Regions from separate parts of the Homo sapiens genome. Here region 1 is linked to region 2. Evidence: promoter capture Hi-C in 16 types of primary human blood cells and fetal thymus (Javierre and others, 2016). All regions are on one chromosome and are shown on one strand. The core of a region is centred on a gene start or on the middle of the fragment in contact, and the rest is flanking DNA. Distances in the headings are between cores, read along the strand shown. Region 1 has its middle 750 kb from the start of LINC01950. Region 2 holds the start of EFNA5 (ephrin A5).

The links. Contacts are between HindIII fragments. The CHiCAGO score rates a contact against its expected background, and 5 or more counts as called.
Region 1: a contact is called between a fragment that was not itself captured here and the fragment with the promoter of EFNA5 in region 2, in 1 of 17 cell types (M1 macrophages). The highest score is 5.0, in M1 macrophages.

Annotation. Positions count from the first base shown.
Region 1 is chr5:106,260,413-106,266,096 of GRCh38, reverse strand. No RefSeq gene overlaps it. Among named protein-coding and RNA genes, the nearest start is that of LINC01950, 750 kb to the left of the region's middle. The HindIII fragment of the contact is 4,265 bases long and covers 1,156-5,420 here.
Region 2 is chr5:107,666,980-107,673,476 of GRCh38, reverse strand. It overlaps EFNA5 (ephrin A5), which reads left to right and starts at 2,540. Exons shown (of 5, transcript NM_001962.3): 1 at 2,540-2,988. The coding sequence starts at 2,864. RefSeq lists enhancers at 1-187, 1,928-2,067, 2,778-2,907, 3,308-3,387 and silencers at 1,028-1,097, 2,458-2,507, 3,078-3,147. The HindIII fragment of the contact is 4,319 bases long and covers 1-3,533 here.

The sequences.
Region 1 (5,684 bases), core at 2,039-4,538, 1.4 Mb after region 2:
TTGGCTTCCTAAGCATTTGCACCCAACTGTTAAGAAACTTTTTAGCTGACAAACATCACAATAGACCAGAAAACCAGAAATCTAAAACCCTATCATGTTGTGCATTTCTTCACTGAGATGATGCTCAGGAAACATTTGTGGCATTTACCTTTTATAATCGTACTTTCATAGATACATAATTTGAAGAAGTCCTGGGGAACAAATGACATATGTTCAAAGGTTGTCTTACTTTTACATGCTTTACCATAAATGTGTGTTAGATAGGCTCAGGCCTCAGTTTATTTGGTTGAAATATACCTGATGTTTATGGTTTCTGTACAGAAAACACAGTCACTGCATGTCAAACAACACTTGACAAATAACCCTGCAGCATTTTAATTCTATTTGGCAAGCTCATAGTTGCATTTTGGCCACAAATGAATCACTGAGTGACCCCTAATGATTGGTACTAAGTTTCCAGCACAGACAACTATTGGTTATTACTGACTTATGAGACGAGATCGGGTATCGCCACAAAATCACACTGGTTTGCAGGAGAGTCCATGACATCGCTTGAAATTTGTTTTGGCTTTTCTTTCATACCCTCTTTTATTCATGCCCTTCTCTCTCCCTCAGCGCCTAGTGACCACTGATGTGTCTCTCTCCTTATATATTTACTTGTTCCAGAATGACACATAAATGGAATCATGCAATATGTCATCTTCTTTTGCCTGACATAATGCATTTGAAATCCATCTATGTTGTGTCTGTATTGGTAGTCTGTCCTTTTCTGTTGCTAAGTATTTCTTATTATGAATGTACCATGTTGGATCCTCTAATTTGAAAACTCTAGCTTTTCTTTAGCTCTGAGACAAATTCTTTTGATTTTAATTTTATTATTTCCTTCTTCCCTTTTTTCTGGTCTCTTTATAGTACTCTAGTCTGATAGCAGACATCCTACTTTATGCTTTTATCTTTCCTTTATGTCAGTTGACTTTTAGTTTATTTGTTCTGTATTTCGGGAAACTTCTTTGAACCTTATATGTCTGTGTTATTGGTGTGTGTATGTGTATGTGTATAATTTGGGAAATTATATTTTTAATTCTTAAAAACTTCTTTTCTGATTTCAGTGTAATATTTTTAATTTGTCTTGTTCAAGATACTACTTTCAAAGCTTTTTAATTTCTTTTATCCATAAAATAGATTTCTCCAAGATCAGTTGTTTTCTTTACCTTGTTCTCCTTTTTGCTTAATTTTTTTCTCAAATATTTGGCAAATCTTTCTTTTTTTTCCAGCCATAGTTAAGAATGAAAGCCTAGTTTAATTATTATAATAGTCAATGCAGTTTTCTTTACCTCTGTTTACAATATATATGGAAGCAGCACTTTCTTTGTAGATGTCTCTCCGTGATGGGTATTTCTTGAATATGGGGTACACGAATACAAAAGAGGACCCAATGTGCCACATTAAACAACTCAGGTCTGCTCAGGAATATTAGCTAATTCTATTAGAGAAGAGCTCTCAGTTTAATATCTGGGTATAGATTCTGGGTTGCCAAGTGCTCTGCATGTATCAGAAGGCAGAAAATGTGATAGCTGAGGTAGCTTTTCCACAGATAGTGCTTCCAGTTAACATTCTTCCTTTATTACCAGCTGGTCCTAATCTTTGTATATATGCCTGACAATTTATGCGGTCTTTTTTGGGAAGACTTATTCCATCTCTGCTCCAGTATTTTCCTTTTTGACTTCCAGAAAATAAGTTCCTTGTTTTTGATGTATCAATGTGTACTTCCAGTCCCCAAGAAATCTTTCAAAATGTCTTCTCAATGAGATCTCTGATTTCCCATTCTCAACAACCTAGGTTTATTCTCTTTTCATCTATTTCAGCTTCATTCTTCGAAAGCTCAAACATTTATAAAATTAGATTTCTGACAGAAAGTAAAGGAAGTGTATGCTGTCATACTGAAATATTTATTCAGCTTCAATTTTGTCACAAAAATTTGTAGTTCAGTTACTCTAACTAGATATAAACCGTATACTTTATACCTCTTTTACCACATGGTTACTAACAAATATATATAAACTATTTTCTCTATATTTATATGTTTATACACTATATATATGTATAAGGTATACATATATAAACACTATTTTCAAATTTTATTTTGATTGGTAGAATATTATGGCTTGTTTAGATTTAGTTAAAGTCATGTGTACAGCAGAAACAATTCATATGTTTAGCTTTTAACTAAATGTATATCAGCATTTATTATGATTTTTATGTTTAACTTTTAACTAAATTTATATCAGTATTTATTATGGTGTTAAATGTTTCACCTTGGACAGAATGAACTTCCAAAAGCATTACTTAGATTCCATGAATGGCAGAAACAAAATCAAATCATCTTGAAATGAAATTATTTTATGTTTGTAGCATCTGCTGACAGTGATGAAAACATGACATCATTTAATTGTTAGTAAAGTTCTTTTTCTGCTAAAGGAATTAATGCATTAACACCTGTTGCTTCACTTTTCAATTCTGAACAGGAAAATGTGAGATTAAACTAAATAATATTGTTAGAATAGTGAAACTGAAAATTCATGCTTTAGAGAAAGCTATATATAAACTCTCTCTGCAGATTTATGTATTAAAATGTTTACTTCAAGTATATTATTCTCAAAATAATTCTAAACTTCTGAAGTAGATGCTAATGTGTCTTCAGCAGATCTGTCTATTCCAGTTCTCATGTTCAGTGACATTACTATGGCCTCCATGGGGTTGGTAAATATTGACAAATAATTGATTCAAGTAACACTTTCATTTTCAACTTTCTTGAGAAATAAATTCATTCACTTTTCATTAAACATGTACTTACTCCCATCTCCCACCTTTTTAGCTGATTGCTGCTGAAAGCAATTATTACAAAATGAGATACAGTTGCTAGATGGTAAAATACATTAAAAGTTGTACAATTATTACACAAAATAAATGAAAAAACCATTATAAGACTAAGCTGATTTATTGAGGTATTATTTGCATACCATGAAATTCACTCATTTTAAATTTTTCAATGAGTTTCAGTAAATTTATAGGTTTATGGAATCACCACCATGATCTAATTTTGGAACATTTCCATTATACGAAAAACAAACTGCCTTCCCATTTGCAGTCACTCCCAGTTAAATTCCCATCCCAAACCCAGAAAACAGGTAATCCACATTATGTCTCTATAAATTTGCCTGTTTTGAATATTTCTATTATTGGAGTTATACAATATAGTCTGTTGTATCTGGCTTTTTTTGCTACATAAATGTTGTGTAGGTTCATCTGGGTTGTAACATGTCTCAATACTTACTTTGTTCCTTTTGCATATAAGTTCCTGAACAGAAATTTTGAGCCTCTGTTTTGCCACACATCTTTCAAACACTTTCCCTTTGAACACTCATATTTACTCAAATACTCTAACTAGTGACTAACTAGCTGCTTCATGTATCTCTCACAATGCCACAGCACAACTGTTATTTATTCCAGTGTCTGGAAGAGGCAGCAGTGGCACAGTCTTTCCCCACCACCTGGGACTGGAATCTGTTGGCTATCAGAATAGTGACATGGACTACCCAGGATCTTCTTTCAGGTTTTACTCCATGTTAAAATGACAACTCTGTTTCCTGTACATGTGCAACATATATTTCTAGACCATGGCAAATGTTAGCAACAAAAGACAAGGACTTCCAAATTTATTCCACTCTATTTTAATGCTTACTATTATTAATGAACTTTGTTTTTTTTTTAATTTTAACTTTTATTTTAGGTTCAGTGGTGCACATGAAAATGTTACACAGGTAAACTCATGTCATGGGAATTTGTCATACTGATTACTTCATCACAGAGGAATTAGGCCCAGTACCAAATAGTTATCTTTTCTGCTCCTCTCCTTCCTCCCACCTCCACGTTCAAATGTTCCCTAATGTCTATTGTTTCCATCTCTGTGTTCAAAGATTCTCATAATTTAGCTCCCACATATAAGTGAGAACATGCAGTATTTGGTTTTCCGTTCCTGCATTAGTTTGCTAAGGATAATAGCCTCCAGTTCCATCCATGTTCCTACAAAGGACATCATCTCATTCTATTTTATGGCTGCATAGTATTACACGTGTATATATGTACCACATTTTCTTTATCCAATCTGTCATTGATGGCCACTTAGGTTGACTCCATGTCTTTGCTATTGTGAATAGTGCTACAATGAACATTTGTGTGCATGTGACTTTATGGTAGAATGATTTATATTCCTCTGGGTATATACCCAGTAATGGAATTACTGGGTCAAATGGTAGTTTTGCTTTTCACTCTTTAAGAGATCACCATACTACTTTCCCCAGTGGTTGAAATAATTTGCACTTCTGTGAACAGTGACTAAATGTTCCCTTTTCTCCACAACCTCTCTAGCATCTGCTATTTTTTTACTTTTTAGTCACAGCCATTCTGACTGGTGTAAGATGGTATCTAATTGTGGTTTTGATTTGCATTTCTCTCATGATGGATGATATTGAGATATTTTATATGCTTATTGACTGCATATATGTCTTCTTTTGTGAGGTGTCTGTTCGTGTCCTTTGCCCACTTTTTTATGGCGTTGTTTTTCTCTTGTATATTTGAATAAACTTTGCTTTACATTTAAAAATCCGAATTTTGTGTCAAGACACATAAAGCGAGACTGTCCTACACAAATCATCATGTGTGATACCTCTAAACCCAGGGTACTATCTCAAAATATAAGCTGGTGTTCTGCACTTGTTGGGTTTCTGTAATTGTTGTTGCTATTGTATTTTTGCATAATTTCTCTATGTAAAATGTATGTGATTTATATATTAAAAGCTGCTGATTTTTACATAGTAATGTTTCTACCAAACAACTACCACTGTATTTCCTCATTTTATCTGATGAGATTCTTGTTGTCCCTTTGGATTTTCCATGTAAACAATCATATCTGATTCAAGTAATAACTGATAAATCAATTCAGGGTAGAGAAGAAAAGAAAATTGGAGACACATAGGCCTATATTGTTTTACACAAGAATAAAGCAGAGAAATATGGCATGGTGAGGAAGAGAAGAGATATAAATGATCTTAGAAATGTCCTATAATTATGAGCAGTAGCCTGACAAAGTTTGCTGTATTGTGTTTCCATTGCAAGACAATCTTATCCTCGTATTTCAAGACAACTGAGATTTGTTTATAAAGACAATCTGATATACACGTATATTCAAGTGCTAGGTAAACCAATCAGGTTATTATATTCTATTTTTAGTTAATTATGTAGTAAGAGGAGACAGAAGAAGAAAGGAAGGAAATGGACTCACTTTTGCACCTTGCTTATCAATCAAAATGGAAACAAATGAGTTTGTTGTGGTTAGAAATTGATCAGTCAACAAAGAAGCTTTGGGTTAACATTAAATTTAAAACTGTGCAAATTATTTCTTACAAGTCACAAAGGGATGCTAATGAGTATCTTGGTAAGAAACCTCTATTGCTCATCATGCAGCTTCAAAGCTAACATTAATCTAGTGGCTGTGTGAATGCTGCTCTCTAAATAGAAAAGACTTTCCTTTCTTAATTTTTGTCATTTGTTATTTTGTATGTGGGACACAGAAACACAGTATGCAGCCATGAAAATATTCTGTATCAGGTAAGAGTAACAAAAGC
Region 2 (6,497 bases), core at 1,291-3,790:
GGAGATCGCTCTTCAGTGGCGGCTGAAGACCAGGCTTGCAACCTGCCCTTGAAGTCCAGGACCGAGGGGCCTTTTCCAACAATAAAGGAACTGCTTTTCTTCCCACAGCCCCCGCCCCCGGCCCTCATTTCTTTCCGCACCGGGTTCGATAAAGGCGTTTATTCTTTGGGGAGTGGGCAGCAAATCACCCTCAAGGTTGAAATGGAAGAGGTGTGAGGTTATTTCTGAAGGGCTCGTCTGCCGCATTCATTTCCTCTCTGTGGAAGGTTCGCGCTGAATTGTAATCACTTTAAACTGTGATTTGCCTGATTTTTAAAAACGTGTTTTCAGAGCATCACTTTAAAGAAAACTTGCTTCCTGCCCAAGAATCTTTAAATCCCAAGTGGGAAGAGGAGGGCTGAAAGGCACAGGAGGGGTGCTCAGACTTCCAGATAACCCAGCGCCAGGCAGCGTGCGGCGTGGAGAGCGGGTGGAATGGACAGGAACGCGCACTCCCTGAGGCTCCGTTCCAGCCCATCCGTCACCTGCGGGGCACCAGAGACAGATGCCGGCTCTCCAGCCAAAGGGTGGGCACAGGTTCCTTTAAAATCGAAAGACCCTACTCCCAGGTAAAAAGATGTCAAATCATTCCTTAGCCCAGACGGAATTCAGCACCCAAAGGGTTACACGTGGCTGCCGGGCTCCGGCGCAGGAGAGGGCGCCTCGGCACTCCCAGTAATTCAATTAGTCAGGTTTCTAGAAGGTGGGGCGGGGGAGGGGGTAGGAGGCGTGGGGAAGGGAGATTAGGAAAACGCCTCTTTCTCGTGGAGCAAACCAATCCGGTTGGAGTAAAGAGAGAGGAAAAACCCCCAATCTGTAAGCAAACAGTAGGCCGTTCCCTGACTGGTTGCTCCAGCTATCCCCCCACCGCGCTCCCACCCTTCCCAAGTAAACTGCTTGGAAGGAGGAAAAAAAAAAAAAAAAAAAAAAAGACAGTCCACATGACCCGGGCCGCAGCGGCAGCAGCGCTGGCTGGGCGCGGGCTGGCGGCACCTCCCCCTGCTTCGTCCGGAGCTCACACCCGCGCTCGCGCCGCCCGCCCGTCCCGCGTCCCGCGCAACACGCCCGGGCGGAGCCCCATCCCCCCGCCCACGTCCACGTTCACGCGTGCGGCCTCGCGCTCTGCTGAGGCTGCTGCCACTGGGTCGCCGCCGCTGTCGGCTTTCCACGCAAGTCATTAACGAGGGGGCGTGCCCGAGGAGATTTTTTTTCCCATAAAGCATTTTTTCTCTCGCTCTCTTTTTTTCCCCCTCTTTTGCAAAACTGACTTTTACAAAACCCTTTCCACTTCTTGCCAGTCGTTTCAATTCCTCCTGGGCTGCTCGTGCTGCTGCTGCTGCACTCAAGTTTATTTATTTTCCCGCCTGGGTAGGGGTTTTAGGATTCGGTTTGTGGTTTTCACCTCTGTTGCTGCTGTGCCTAAGGAGGGAAAGAGGAGCAGCTGCGGGAGGATCGGGAAGGTTTTCTGATGTAGTCATCGGGGAGGTGCCACTCGCTCGTGCGCTTTTTTTTTTTCCTCTTTTCCCATTTCAAACTGATTGATGCATCTCTACAAGTTGCTAGGCTTGGACCCGCTGGAGTCGCAGGGACACTTCTGAGAGCTCACCCCGGGCTCTTGGCACCGCGTGTGGGGGCTCAGTCTCCCTCTCGGAAGGCGATCGGAGACTGACATCGGCCCATCCAGGAGTTGGAGGGATCCATTTGAAAGTGATTGTTTCCCCTCCCGCTCTCCAGCCGAACAGTTGGGTTGGCGTCGTCTTGCAGGTTTAGGAATCCCAGCTCTGCCAGGCCGGCTGGTCTTAACCTCTGCTCTTCATTCACTGTGGTGCACCCACACCCAGCCAAGGAAAGCACGCGCGAGAAATCCCCGAGGCTCGGCCAGCCCCCGGGGTGCCCTCTTCCGCTACCGCCGCGTTCCGACTCTGCTGGGGGACCTGCCGGAAGACGCGAAGAGCCAAACTTTTCTTTGAGGTTTTCGAGGCAAGACCGCTTCGAAAGCCGGCGCAGCTGCCGCTTAACCAGTTCCAGGACACCGACAAGGCTGGGTTGCGGCTCCGGATCCCCACCCTTCTCGGCGCACCGCCCGGTACCGCAGCACTTACGACTCCTCTGAGATTTCTGGGGGTCGCCCCGCTAAGGCACAGAGGAGGCTGAGGAAAGGGGTTCTCAGACTCCCGGGACCACAAGCGCGAAGCCCTCTATCAGCACGTCGCCCTTCTCCTGCAGTTTCCCACCGGCCGCCAAAGTAACTTGGAGCGAAGCGTGGCGCAGTGCGAGGGCCCCGGGCGGTGGCGGAGCCGTGCGTAGCCTGCTGCGCCGACGCTGAGCCGGGCCCGGCGGGCCGGTGTATGTCTCCCCGCGGCTGCGGCGCGCAACTCCCGGTGACTGTGCAGCGCGCGCCGCCGCCTGCCCCGACCCGCGCTGCAGCCGCCCGGCCCGGCGCGCACCTCCCTCTCCCGGGGTGACCGGCCTGCCGCCGCCGCCCGAGACACAGCTTGGCACCTCTTCCCCCGCCCTCGCCGCCGCCACCACACACACGCACGCTTCTCTCCATCTTGTGATTCCTTTTTCCTCCTGAACCCTCCAGTGGGGGTGCGAGTTTGTCTTTATCACCCCCCATCCCACCGCCTTCTTTTCTTCTCGCTCTCCTACCCCTCCCCAGCTTGGTGGGCGCCTCTTTCCTTTCTCGCCCACTTTCATTTTTATTTATTCATATTTATTTGGCGCCCGCTCTCTCTCTGTCCCTTTGCCTGCCTCCCTCCCTCCGGATCCCCGCTCTCTCCCCGGAGTGGCGCGTCGGGGGCTCCGCCGCTGGCCAGGCGTGATGTTGCACGTGGAGATGTTGACGCTGGTGTTTCTGGTGCTCTGGATGTGTGTGTTCAGCCAGGACCCGGGCTCCAAGGCCGTCGCCGACCGCTACGCTGTCTACTGGAACAGCAGCAACCCCAGGTAAGCCGATAACAGGCGGAGAGCCAGGGCTACCCGGGCCTCGGGGCCCTGCGGAAGGAGCGGCGGCGGGGATCGGCGCGCACCAACCGCTGGCGGCGCGCACCCTCGGAGCCTGCGTCGCCCGGGCGCTGATGGCTTGAGGCGTCGGCGGGAAGCGCTCGCGTCGCGCCCCTCTTTGTTAAGCCGCCGCGGAAAGGCCAGGTACCCCTGGGAGTCCCCGGGGCTGCCTAGACCAACTGCTTCTGCGGGGCGCCGGGAGACTCGGAAAAGGGCGGGAGCCGGGGAGTAGGGACTTCTCTGCTTCCCAGCCCCGGCATCTGGCTGGCATCCGGTTCCCGGCGCGGGGAGCCCCCAGTGTGCGCAGCCGGGAGCTCCTTCCTGGAGCGTGGGTCCGCAGGGACTGCGGAGAGAACCCGCCAAACATCCCCCAAAGTTTTTTTTTTTTTTTTTTTTTTTTTAATTTTAATTTTCCCTTCTCTTTTCCCGGTGCGCGCAGAGAGAGCGCACGGGCTGGGGGAAGTGAGGGGGGCTGGGAAGCGGAAGCTTTAGGTTTTTATTTTCCTCTTCAACTGCGAGGAAATCATTCGGCCCCTGAGTCAGTCTGGGCCCGGCGCGCCTGGCAGTGGAGAGGATTCTCCCATCTTCTCCATCCCTCCACCCACCCCAGTGGGTTCAAGGTGCCAGAAAGTTTGATCTAATGCCGGGTTACGTCATGTGTGCAGAACAAGCTGCCAGAGTTGGCCGAGCCAGGAGGTGGGAGCCCTTCGCCCGCGGCCTGGCGATGTGCTGCCGGAGGAACGCGCGCGATTACCTGGAACCGATTTGTAGGCGTCCCGAAGCCCGCCGGGTATGCGGGAGACTAGAGGTGGGCGCCGGGGGCGGTCCTAGTGCGCGTGCTGGACACCGGCCAGTCGCAGACGTCCCGTGTTTTCGGACCCTGGAAGTGGAGTGGGGAGGTTATCCAGAGTGCCCGGCGGGGTCCTCCGGGTCTGGAGCAGTTCCGAACCTTTATTGCTTCCCGGCCTGTGCACAGAAGTCGGCCCCGCTAGGCCCATACCGCACTGCTTTCTCTGGGACAGAGGCTAGCTTCCAGCTGTGTGCCGGTCTCGGTGCCCTCCTAGGTGCTATTTATTAATAGTACCGATTGCATCTAAAGTCACAGGTTTTTCACTGGGCTGGAGTGGAAGTTGGGAAGAGAGAGGCGGGAGGCCGAGGGGTTAGCCTAAGAGTTGGTGCGCGCCCCGGGCTCCAGGAGAGAGGGTATCGGTGGGCGCCTCCAGTTTTTTCTATCTCCTGCGGGCCCTCTCCGCCTGCCTCCAGCCTCCCCTCAGCATGCAGGCAAGAGAGGGATTCCCTGCTTGAATAATGTCAGCGCAGATGAAGATGGGAAGATTTCCCCACAAGCAGTCCGCCGGTTACAGAACCAGGAGGGAGTTCCCCCTATCCCGCTAGTCCAAGATAGTCTTACTCAGGTAGCCGCCCAAGTCCTAAATGAACCGCTGAACAGGAGTGGAGATATTCCTGAAAGTTTGGTTCAAAAAACAAGAGTCTCCTGGAGGTGGGTGGTGGAATGGGAAGCGATTTCTTCTTTGACATGCCACTTACCACTATTAGGAAAAGAGAAAAAGAAGCCATCCTGCCAGAGGAGAGATGCCTTTTATTAAAGCTGACAAGACAAATAGAGCAAGCTTTCCAGTTGTGATGGTGTTAAAAGCCAGTCTCATTATGTTGGTTAGTTTTTTTTCCCCGTTTGTGCTTTATTAGGCAGCATATACGAAGCAGAAATTTGTATCTCTGAACTTTAGCACCTTATTAAATAAAGCAACACTGAAATAGTTTCTTTGAATTTGGGATATCTTGCTCTCGGTTGTCTTTTCTTTCCCACACCAAGCTCCACATTGTGATCTTTTTCTCATGGCATTCATTTATTTGGATACTTGGGTGTTCCAGTCTTCCTGGGTTAAAACGGAAAGAACCAGCAACACCCCTACTTTAACCCCCCTTCTTAACCTGTCAAGCTAGTCTGAGTTAGTTTGAGGACATTTTATCTTAGGTTATCTCTGTTTTGTGCTTTTGATACTGTTGTTTGGTTTGAGATTAGCACATTGATTTTTGTCACAGGTCATGTTTTTTAATAGATCTGCCCTGCCTGCAGAAAACTCTTCTGCTCAGGATGCCATGGAGGCTTTGAACCTGCCCAGACAAAGTTAATCTGCAGAATTTTAAAATACCAAGAGTATTTCTAAATCGGTATTCTAACTTCAGGTTTGTAGAATTACCTTTCTATTTGATCATTATCAGTTTGATAATGGCCAAAAGAAAGAATGATGTACCCCTCTTAACCCCAAGAGATACAGCCCTAACACTTATTATTCTTAGGAATTTATGGACACATTTATCTTGGTATGTTATCACAGTTAAAAACTTACTTTAAAAACAATATTTTAAAAGTAGGCAGTTTTATCTCTGAAGTGTTGAATAAGATGTTGCTCTTTTGATGCATTAAGAAAAGTCAACTTGGATATAAGAGGCCACATGCCAAATAAGTATTTTAAAAATAAAAACTAACAGTTTTCCACAAACAATAGTAAGAAAATATTTCAGAAAATTTCCACGGGTTTAGTAAATTTTATAAATTCACTGTTGTGCAATTCCTTTTCCTGTATGTTATTTCATAAAGTAAGCTAGCCATGCTTTGTGTCTTTATATAGAACCTATCTGTTAAAATTTTGCTAAACTAGTAAGACTTCAATCTTTTGAAAAAAGAATAGAGGACTTTAATTGCAACTTAAATAATTTTTTTTATTTTTCCCTCAGAATATAATATGTTCAGTGGGCACGTTAAACTGATGATAATGTACACTGTGTCTAAACGAAGTAAATCTACTTTAGCTTATACTAACAGATTCAATTTGAAATTATGTTTAGGTAAAATCAGAATTAAATGTATCTTGATCACAGGGATTAAGTACAGTATCTTACTGTGTAACTTGTGTCACTTGTGTATCTGGTAGGAGTTTATCTTCTACATGGAGTTTCATTACTGCCTCTCCATTGATAAATGAGCATCTATAGATGTAGTTTCACGGGAAAAAATATTAAATTTATTTGCTGTCAGAATAGTTTTACTGTTACAATCTATGTACCCAGGTATTCACTTCTGAGAAGTGGATACTGAGTTTTCAAATGCTGATAACTTTTAGTTGGTAGTATTTATTGGATAGGGGACCAAACTGATTTTTTTATGTGTTGAATTGGCACAAATTTGTGAAATAGCCACTCAGAACTATCAGTTTGAATAGAAATATATGATAACATTTGCCTAAATAGATCTTCTATATTTCCAAAATTTGAAAACTTGTATAAGTTTTACCTAAAAGTGTAAATAATCAAATCATCCTTTTAATATTATTCTGAATTCTAAACTGGAATGTCACCAAGTAACTTTGAGTAATGAAAATCCACATCAAGAAGAATATAACTATTTGTCCTTAATTTCTTTAAGAATG